3 separate regions of the Homo sapiens genome follow, and all the other regions are linked to region 2. Evidence: promoter capture Hi-C in human tissues and cell types (Jung and others, 2019). All regions are on one chromosome and are shown on one strand. The core of a region is centred on a gene start or on the middle of the fragment in contact, and the rest is flanking DNA. Distances in the headings are between cores, read along the strand shown.

Region 1 (2,883 bases), core at 165-2,664, 140 kb before region 2:
ACTAAAACACCAAAAGCAATAGCAACAAAAGCCAAAATTGACAAATGGGATCTAATTAAACTAAAGAGCTTCTGCACAGCAAAAGAAACTACCATCAGAGTCAACAGGCAACCTACAGAATGGGAGAAAATTTTTGCAATCTACTCCTCTGACAAAGGGCTAATATCCAGAATCTACAATGAACTCAAACAAATTTACAAGAAAAAAAAAACAACCCCATCAACAAGTGGGCAAAGGACATGAACAGGCACTTCTCAAAAGAAGACATTTATGCAGCCAACAGACACATGAAAAAATGCTCATCATCACTGGCCATCAGAGAAATGCAAATCAAAACCACAATGACATACCATCTCACACCAGTTAGAATGGCGATCATTAAAAAGTCAGGAAACAACAGGTGCTGGAGAGGATGTGGAGAAATAGGAACACTTTTACACTGTTGGTGGGACTGGAAACTGGTTCAACCATTGTGGAATACAGTGTGGCGATTCCTCAGGGATCTAGAACTAGAAATACCATCTGACTCAGCCATCCCATTACTGGGTATAGACCCAAAGGATTATAAATCATGCTGCTATAAAGACACATGCATGCGTATGTTTATTGCGGCACTATTCACAATAGCAAAGACCTGGAACCAACCCAAATGTCCAACAATGATAGACTGGATTAAGAAAATGTGGCACATATACACCATGGAATACTATACAGCCATAAAAAATGATGAGTTCATGTCCTTTGTAGGGACATGGATGAAGCTGGAAACCATCATTCTCAGCAAACTATCACCAAGGACAAAAAACCAAACATCGCATGTTCTCACTCACAGGTGGGAATTGAACAATGAGAACACTTGGACACAGGAAGGGGAACATCACACACTGGGGCCTGTTGTGGGGTGGGGGGAGGGGGGGAGGGATAGCATTAGGAGATATACCTAATGTAAATGACGAGTTAATGGGTGCAGCACACCAACATGGCACATGTATACATATGTAACAAACCTGCACATTGTGCACATGTACCCTAAAACTTAAAGTATAAAAATAATAAAATTAAAAAAAAAAAACAGAAAGCAAAAATCTGATATGCAGTTGGGAACCACAGACCAAGAACCATTATTATTAGAACTTATAAAATTCCACAATTTTTGTATAAGTTATATTTGGTTTTTAAATTGTTTTAATCCCTTCTTCTGATTCTGTATAATGACACAGAGCAAAGCCTATAAAACGAAAAGTACAACATGCTTCTTTACTAGGAAAACAAAGATGATGGCAGTCTGAAAGGCTGAATACCACTCCACAGCCAGGCTTGGGAAGAACGAAAACACAAAGTAAAGTACATGCAAAGATAGCACAAATGCTCAGAGTTACTAAGTGGAGAAAGAGGACTGGAGCTTTCAACAATGAAGAAAAGTTAGGATGTTGGTGTGGACATGAGAAGAGTTATACAGCTTAATAACAGAAAGCCTACCAAGAATAAAGGAGGTAACGGAAAACCCTGAAAAGAGTAGATGTTGCTTGTCCCAAATGCCATTTCTTCATCTTTCATTTAACTCACTGTGGGTTGAACTATGTCCTAAAAGATATGTTAGACTTCTAACCCTAAGTATCTGTGAATATGACCTTATTTGGAAACAAGGTCTCTGCAGATATAATCAAATTAATTCAATGACTGTTGTTCTTACAAGAAAAATGGAAATTTAGACACAGACACACAGAGACAGGAGAATGCATTGTGAAGACACAGACAGACACACAGGGAGGCACATTACAACAGAGGCAGAGATTAGAATGATACATCTACAAGCTAAGGAACAGCAAGGACTGCCAGCAACCATCAGAGGCAGAAGAGTACAGGATGCTTCCTCCTTCAGAGCCTCTAGACGGAGCTGAACTGATCCTGCTGACAGCCTAATTTCAGACTTCCAGTCTACAGAACTGTGTGAAAACAAATTTTGGTTGCTGTAAGCCACCTAGTTTGTGGTACTTTGTGATGGCAGCTGTAGGAAACAAATACAGTCATCAAACCACTGCATTTTGGCTTTCTGTACTAGTCTATGGATGTATACTCGTCATCAATCACCAAATCCAATAGCTCTATTTCATAATTCACTTGATTTAACATGTGATACTGTCAAGAATTTCTGCCTTGAATCTCTTTTTTTCTTTGTTCCATTAATCTTTCCTGGTTATCTTATTCTCTCTCTTTAAGGTTGCCCTTTCTCAGTCTCCTTTGTTTCTCAGAATTCTATGTCTAAGGTTTCCCAAGATTTTGTTCCTGTTCTTTAATACTGTCTCCATACGCTCTACCTGAGCAAGTTTTTCCATTCCTATGACTTCAATTGTTACTAATATATTAATGAAGCTCTATGCCTACAGCTCCCTACCCATTCAAACCTCAACTTCAAATTATCTCATGAAATTGTTTATCAACAATTTCTGCTGAAATATCCTCTGGCACTCAAAGTATATCTTATAATCAGACCCATTTTTTAGTAGCCCACATGTCCAAAATAAACAAATTTATCATCTTTTCCCTCCATCAGCAATAACAAAAACATTCTCCAATCCTGATGCCCCAGGTTGAGCTGAATGCATTCTCTTATACACACCAGCCTCATCTCTGGAGGTAAGTTAGGACCAGCAAGAACAAACAATGCAATAGTCTAAACATCCTCAAAAACAGGACACAAATAAGAATAATATCCAAAAAACTGAGAGACAGTAGAAGCAAAAGAAATGCCTCCAACTCACAGGTGTAACAAAAGAGGACAGATTCCCTGGTACAAGCTCCCTCTCTAAGAGTCTACAGCCAGACTAGTACCACAGTATGGGAGAGTGGGAAGAACAGAATAAATTGGAGATGGAACCTTCT
Region 2 (3,000 bases), core at 308-2,807:
AGTCAGTAGCCAAAGACTCAGCTTCCCCTGTCCTTCCCCAGTCCCTTCACTTCCCCTACCCTCTGACCTATCTCTGAAAGCCAAGTTATGCGTATGTGTGTGTGCACAAGCTTGTCTTTGTGTGGTATGTGTGTGTGAGTGTGCATGTATGCACACACACAGGGGTTAACCACCCCTCACCTAGGGCTCCAGACTCCAGTTGTCCCTCTCCTCCTACCTGTGTCTCCTTGTTTTGGGGTCCTGACTGAAGAAGGTGTCCAGGGGGCAGAGTCAGGGCCAAGCACTGGGGTGCCTCCTCTCACCTGGCCAGACTCTGACCCACCTACCTCAGCTGGGGTGAGGGGCACCCCTCAAACTCAGTCATGTGGTTCCAAACTACCCCATTCCCCACTCCAGACTCTGACCCAGCCTCAGTCCTAACTCCTGGGGCTGGGCTGAGGGGAACAAGCATTTGCTGAAACTTGAAAAAACAAAGCAAATCAAAAACAGGAAAAAATTGTACCTGGTACTTTTTTTTAGAAAAAAAGATTAAAAAAGAAAGAATAAATTCTTGTTTGGAAACTTGAACTAAGCTCTACTTTTGTTGTTGTTGTTGTTGTTGGGGAGAGGGTGTGAAGGGGGATGGAGGGCCTTCCTGGAGCTGGGACTCAGCCCTTTCTACCAGAGAGGCAACAGGCCTGGGCCCATGAGGTCTTAGGCTAGTCCCTGCTGATTCCTGGGGCCTGGTTTTTCTCCTTTCGGAGGGGTTGGTGGGTAAAGTTCAGCCGTAGAAGCTGAACTCTGAATTGTAGATCAGGATTCTAATACTGGTTCTATTAATGACTTTAGCCCCTCAGAACTTCAGTGCCCTCATATGTAAAATGGAGGTGACTACGGAGGTCTCTTGACTACCAGAGCATTAGGGATGTGGGCAAGGTGACATGCTCCAGACAAGGTTGAACGTTGAGGCTGTTTGCTGGACTGTATTTAAGACCGGGCATAACAAACCTTGCTTGGGAAGACAGGGAAGGAGCTGCAGTGTCTTTGAGGAAAGAGGGGAGGGGAAAATCTCGGCCCAATCGCCAGGCAATATTAGGCCCAGTTTCCATGGCAACGGGATTGGGGTCAGTCCCCAGTGGGAGTCCTGGGCACAACACAGCGGGACTACCAGAGAATATCACTATGGCAACCATGGCAACGAGTCAGCTCCAATCCACTAGTCGCTATGGTGACAGATGGGGGCGATACTACGCTCTGGTGGGCAAACTGAGTCTCGGGTGAGGACGAATAATTCAGTGCGTGGTGTCTGAGTGATAATGCCCGCGAAAAATAGCCTCCATTTTGGCCATCAGGCCGGGGATCTTCGGCGTGAACAGCTAAACCCAGAACAACCACAGCCTTCGCCCTTCTCTAGAAGGTCTGCGTTTCCCAGGGAACAACTTGACGCGCCGTTCGACCAAGTAACGCTGATTGGGTGAGTGTTGAAGCGGGGGAGGGAGCTGCCGGAAGTACATCCGGGGGAGCGGAACTGCAAGAGGAAAGGCTCGGGTAGGCTTCTGGGAGCGACCGCTCCGCTCGTCTCGTTGGTTCCGGAGGTCGCTGCGGCGGTGGGAAATGCTGGCGCGCGCGGCGCGGGGCACTGGGGCCCTTTTGCTGAGGGTGAGAGCGAGGCAACCTTTCCAGAGGGTCAGGACAGAGATTACCTGGGTTCTCCGCTGGAAAAGAGCGAAATTCCAACTTTTGGAGAGGACTGGGGTCAGAGGTCATGGTCCCCATGTGATTCTCCGAGGATCCTGAGGGTCGTGGTTTATGGAGATGCCTTCAGGACCGAGGGGCGGCGTGTCTGGCCAGATGGGATCTCTGCTCACCCTCTTCTTTCCTTCAGGGCTCTCTACTGGCTTCTGGCCGCGCTCCGCGCCGCGCCTCCTCTGGATTGCCCCGAAACACCGTGGTACTGTTCGTGCCGCAGCAGGAGGCCTGGGTGGTGGAGCGAATGGGCCGATTCCACCGGATCCTGGAGCCTGTGAGAAACCTCTTCTGCCCACCCTGGGCCAGCCAGATGACCAATCCCTCACGACATGCAATGTCGGGAGGACTTCCTTTGGGCCTGCCCGCACTGTTAGCTCCCGACTCTGTAGGCCAGACCTGACAGGGCCCAGGCTGCTGACCATCATCCCCATGTTACCACCTTTTCCTATGCATCTCACAGGCCCCATTCTTGGGAATCTCCCCTGCCCACTCTCAGCCCTACCTCTCAGTCTGCATAGAGATGGCTATTCTGCTGGCTCCGATTCTCATGACTCTCCCCTCCATTCAGGGGCCTAGTCTTGCATTCCTGTTCTCTTGGGTTTTCTTACCAGTGACACCTCAGCCTTCTGAGGACTTATTTCTTGGTAGGAGCTGCTGCTTTTCTGGGCATGTTCCATGTGTTGACTCCCTACATACTCCAGGACTAGCTTAGGTCCCAACCCAATAGTTCCCAGCCTTCTGAGGACCCATGACTCCTCTTTCCAGGGTTTGAACATCCTCATCCCTGTGTTAGACCGGATCCGATATGTGCAGAGTCTCAAGGAAATTGTCATCAACGTGCCTGAGCAGTCGGCTGTGACTCTCGGTGAGGGGTTCAGGGTGACATGGGTGCTCTGAGGCTATTAGGATGTGGTTGCTGTAGATCCAGAGCTTAGTAGAAAGAACTGGTTGGGACCTAGAGGCCTGACTTTCCCCGTTTTCTCTCCTGGTTCTACAGACAATGTAACTCTGCAAATCGATGGAGTCCTTTACCTGCGCATCATGGACCCTTACAAGGTACCTGTCCCCTACTTTATCCAGCCTTTTGAGTTGCCCTCTTCACTAAAATCTTGTGCCCAAGCTTCTTACACTATCCGTGTCCATCTCAGGCAAGCTACGGTGTGGAGGACCCTGAGTATGCCGTCACCCAGCTAGCTCAAACAACCATGAGATCAGAGCTCGGCAAACTCTCTCTGGACAAAGTCTTCCGGGTAAGCAGATCTGAGCCAGAGT
Region 3 (2,974 bases), core at 166-2,665, 220 kb before region 2:
TTACAAGAAGTACACAGAAAAGTAAGACATAGCAGTAAACAAGTAACTCCATTACATCATCATGCAGTAGAAAAAAATATGCAAAGAGTCTAGAAACTTTACCCCAAAACTGACAGCTGACTGGGTTTTAAAAGATGTGAATGAAAAGTTAGCTAAGTGAATTAAGAGAAAGAGCATTCTAAGCATGGGAAACAGCAAATATAAAGTCTCTGAGAATTTTTGAAATATAAATAATTCTATATGTTGGAAGCATTTCACCTAAACAGGATAGCAAAAAGAGCCTAGCAGATAAGTGAAAATCCAAAAGTTTGATACATTACTGATGGGTTAGGAAAGAGAAAACCACTCTTAAGACATTACTAGTGGGAGTATAAATTGGTACACTCCCTATGGGAAGCATATACTTTTGGGGGTAGGCATTAAAGCCATTGACAAATATCCTTCTCTATCTCTTTAAAAGTATGTCATACTGCTCCACTTTAATTAAAACAGAGCTAGCATTCAACCCAGCAATCCCATTACTGGGTATATAATGAAAAGAAAACAAATTGTTCTACCAAAAAAACACATACCCTCATATATTCATCGCAGCATTATTCACAATAGCAGAGACATCAAATCAACCTAGGTACCCATCAACAGTGGACTGGATAAAGAAAATGTGGTACATATGCATCATGGAATACTATGCAGCCATAAAAAACAGTGAAATGTCCTTTGCAACAACATGGATGCAGTTGGAGGCCATAATTTTAAGCAAATTAATGCAGGAACAGAAAACCATATATTGCATATTCTCATTTATAAATGGGAGCTAGGGGCCAGGCCTATAATCATGCCTGTAATCCCAGCACTTTGGGAGTCTGAGACAAGAGGATTGCTTGAGGCCAGGAGTTCAAGACCAGCCTAGGAAACATAATGAGACCCTATCTCTACACAAGAATTTTTTAATTTGCTGGGCATAAGTGGCACATGCCTGTGGTCCCAGCTACTTGGGAGGCTGAGGTGAAGGGTTGCTTGAGCCCAGGAGTTAAGGTTGCAGTGAGCTGTGATCATGCCCGTGCACTCCAGCCTGGGTGACAGAGTGAGACCCCATCTCAAAAAAATAAAATTAAAAAAAAAAGTTTTAAAAAATGAGTGGCATCTAAACATTGGGTACTCATAAATATGGGAACAATAGACACTGTAGACTACTAGAGGGAGGAAGGAGGAAGATGGCAGGGATTGAAAAACTACCTGAGTACTATGTTCACTACATGGGTGACAGGATCTATACCCCAAATCTCAGCATCATGCAAAATACCTATGTAACAAACCTGCACAGGTATCCCCTGTATCTAATTTTTTTTTTTTTTTTTTTTTTTTTTTTTTTTTTGAGATAGGGTCTCACTCTGTCACCTAGGTTGGAGTGCAGTGGCATGAGCTTGGCCCACTGCAACCTCTGCTTCCCGGGTTCAGGCAATTCTCCTGCCTCAGCCTCCCAAGTAGCTGGGATTACAGGTATGCACCACCACACCCGGCTAATTTTTGTATTTTTGGTAAGGATGAGGGTTTCACCATGTTGGCCAGGCTGGTCTCAAACTCCTGCTGGGATTACAGGCATAAGCCACTGCACTCAGCCCTCTGTATCTAAAATATTAATAGAAGTTGAAATTATTTTTAAAAAGTTAAGTTTGGTTTCATGATTTCCTTTAGCTAGGAAAATATGAGCAAAAGCAACATATGTATTAATAACTTCTGGGTAGAAGTTTTAAGAGCCAAAGTACAACTTGCTATATTTTCTTTCACTTGTTATCTTTCCCTTCCTTTTACCATTGTGACTGGCAGTGTTCCAGGTGTTGGTTGCTCCATCAGCCTGGATTGCAGAGAGAAGACAACTTTAAAGCAAAACTCCTTGATGTGGAATACGAGCAAGAAACAAGCCCTTGTTATTTTAAGCCATAGACAAATGGATGGCAATTTGGCAATATTTATCAAAATTATAAATGCATATCCCCTTGGTATACCTGCACACATGCAAAATGACATATGTACAAGGTTATTCATTTGTAACATGGTTAACAGCAAATGACTGGAAACAACCAAATGAACATCAACAAAGGACTAAATACTTGCAGAACAAATATTTCATTCAATGGAATATTACGCAGCTATAAAAAAGAATGAAAAATTTTCTTAGAGCTGATATGGAAGGATCTCCAAATACAAAATCAAGAAATGCTTGGTATGTATAATATACCATCTTTTGTATAAAAACGGGTAAAGAAGCATTAGTATATTCATATTTGCTTGTACTTGTAGACAGATATTCTAGAACGATAAATAGGAAACTAACAAGATTATCTTGAGTGGAGGGTGAAGGAGTGATTGGGGTGGCGGGGCGGCAGCGGGGCAAAAAAATCCTTGGTGTTGTGCTTAACTTCTTTCTCTCACATAACTTCAACCAATATGTTACTAAATCTCATCTTAAGTACAAATGGTACATTTCTGCTTCAATCTTAAACTGTTATCAGAACCCTCTTTAAACTCTGGCTTCTTGTTCTCCTCTTGGACATTTCTAATCAGTTGCCAGTTACTTTACCTGTGTTAAGAATATCTTTACTATTGTTCTCTTATTCAATTAAGTTCTTAGTTACTCTTAGGTAAACCATGCCTCTGTCTGTATGATTCCAAGCTTTGGCAACTGTTTTCAGCTAGTCTTTTTGAGAGACTGAATTATTATACTTCTGAAAAAGAAAAGGCCATAACTTAAACTGTGTCTTCTCCAATATATTCTTATTTTTCTAATTCAGAGCTTTCCTTTTACATGGATAAGGCTAATTACTTTGCTTTGCTTTATAGGAAGAATTACAAGACCCTTACTTTTAAAAAACTTAGAAATAAAAAATCAGTAAGTATTATGACATTCATTCCATAAATGTTCATTTTAAATGCTTGTTTAGGCCAGGCGTGGTGGCTCATGCCTGTAATCCCA

What was found. Contacts are between HindIII fragments. The study calls those that stand out against the background at their distance.
Region 1: a contact is called between a fragment that was not itself captured here and the fragment with the promoter of STOML2 in region 2, in 1 of the 25 tissues and cell types used here (mesendoderm cells).
Region 3: a contact is called between a fragment that was not itself captured here and the fragment with the promoter of STOML2 in region 2, in 1 of the 25 tissues and cell types used here (mesenchymal stem cells).

The regions. Positions count from the first base shown.
Region 1 is chr9:35,243,527-35,246,409 of GRCh38, reverse strand. All of the region lies in intron 6 of UNC13B (unc-13 homolog B), which reads right to left. Among named protein-coding and RNA genes, the nearest start is that of UNC13B, 83 kb to the right of the region's middle. The HindIII fragment of the contact is 7,349 bases long and covers 1-2,883 here.
Region 2 is chr9:35,101,688-35,104,687 of GRCh38, reverse strand. It overlaps STOML2 (stomatin like 2), which reads left to right and starts at 1,557. Exons shown (of 10, transcript NM_013442.3): 1 at 1,557-1,638; 2 at 1,865-2,002; 3 at 2,494-2,593; 4 at 2,726-2,784; 5 at 2,877-2,978. The coding sequence starts at 1,594. ATOSB (atos homolog B) reads left to right here. Exons shown (of 9, transcript NM_025182.4): 9 at 1-571. It also overlaps a transcript of PIGO-AS1 not described here. RefSeq lists enhancers at 1,290-1,339, 1,460-1,509, 1,520-1,789, 1,920-2,179. The HindIII fragment of the contact is 4,892 bases long and covers 1,480-3,000 here.
Region 3 is chr9:35,317,804-35,320,777 of GRCh38, reverse strand. All of the region lies in intron 11 of UNC13B (unc-13 homolog B), which reads right to left. Among named protein-coding and RNA genes, the nearest start is that of UNC13B, 160 kb to the right of the region's middle. The HindIII fragment of the contact is 3,105 bases long and covers 1-2,967 here.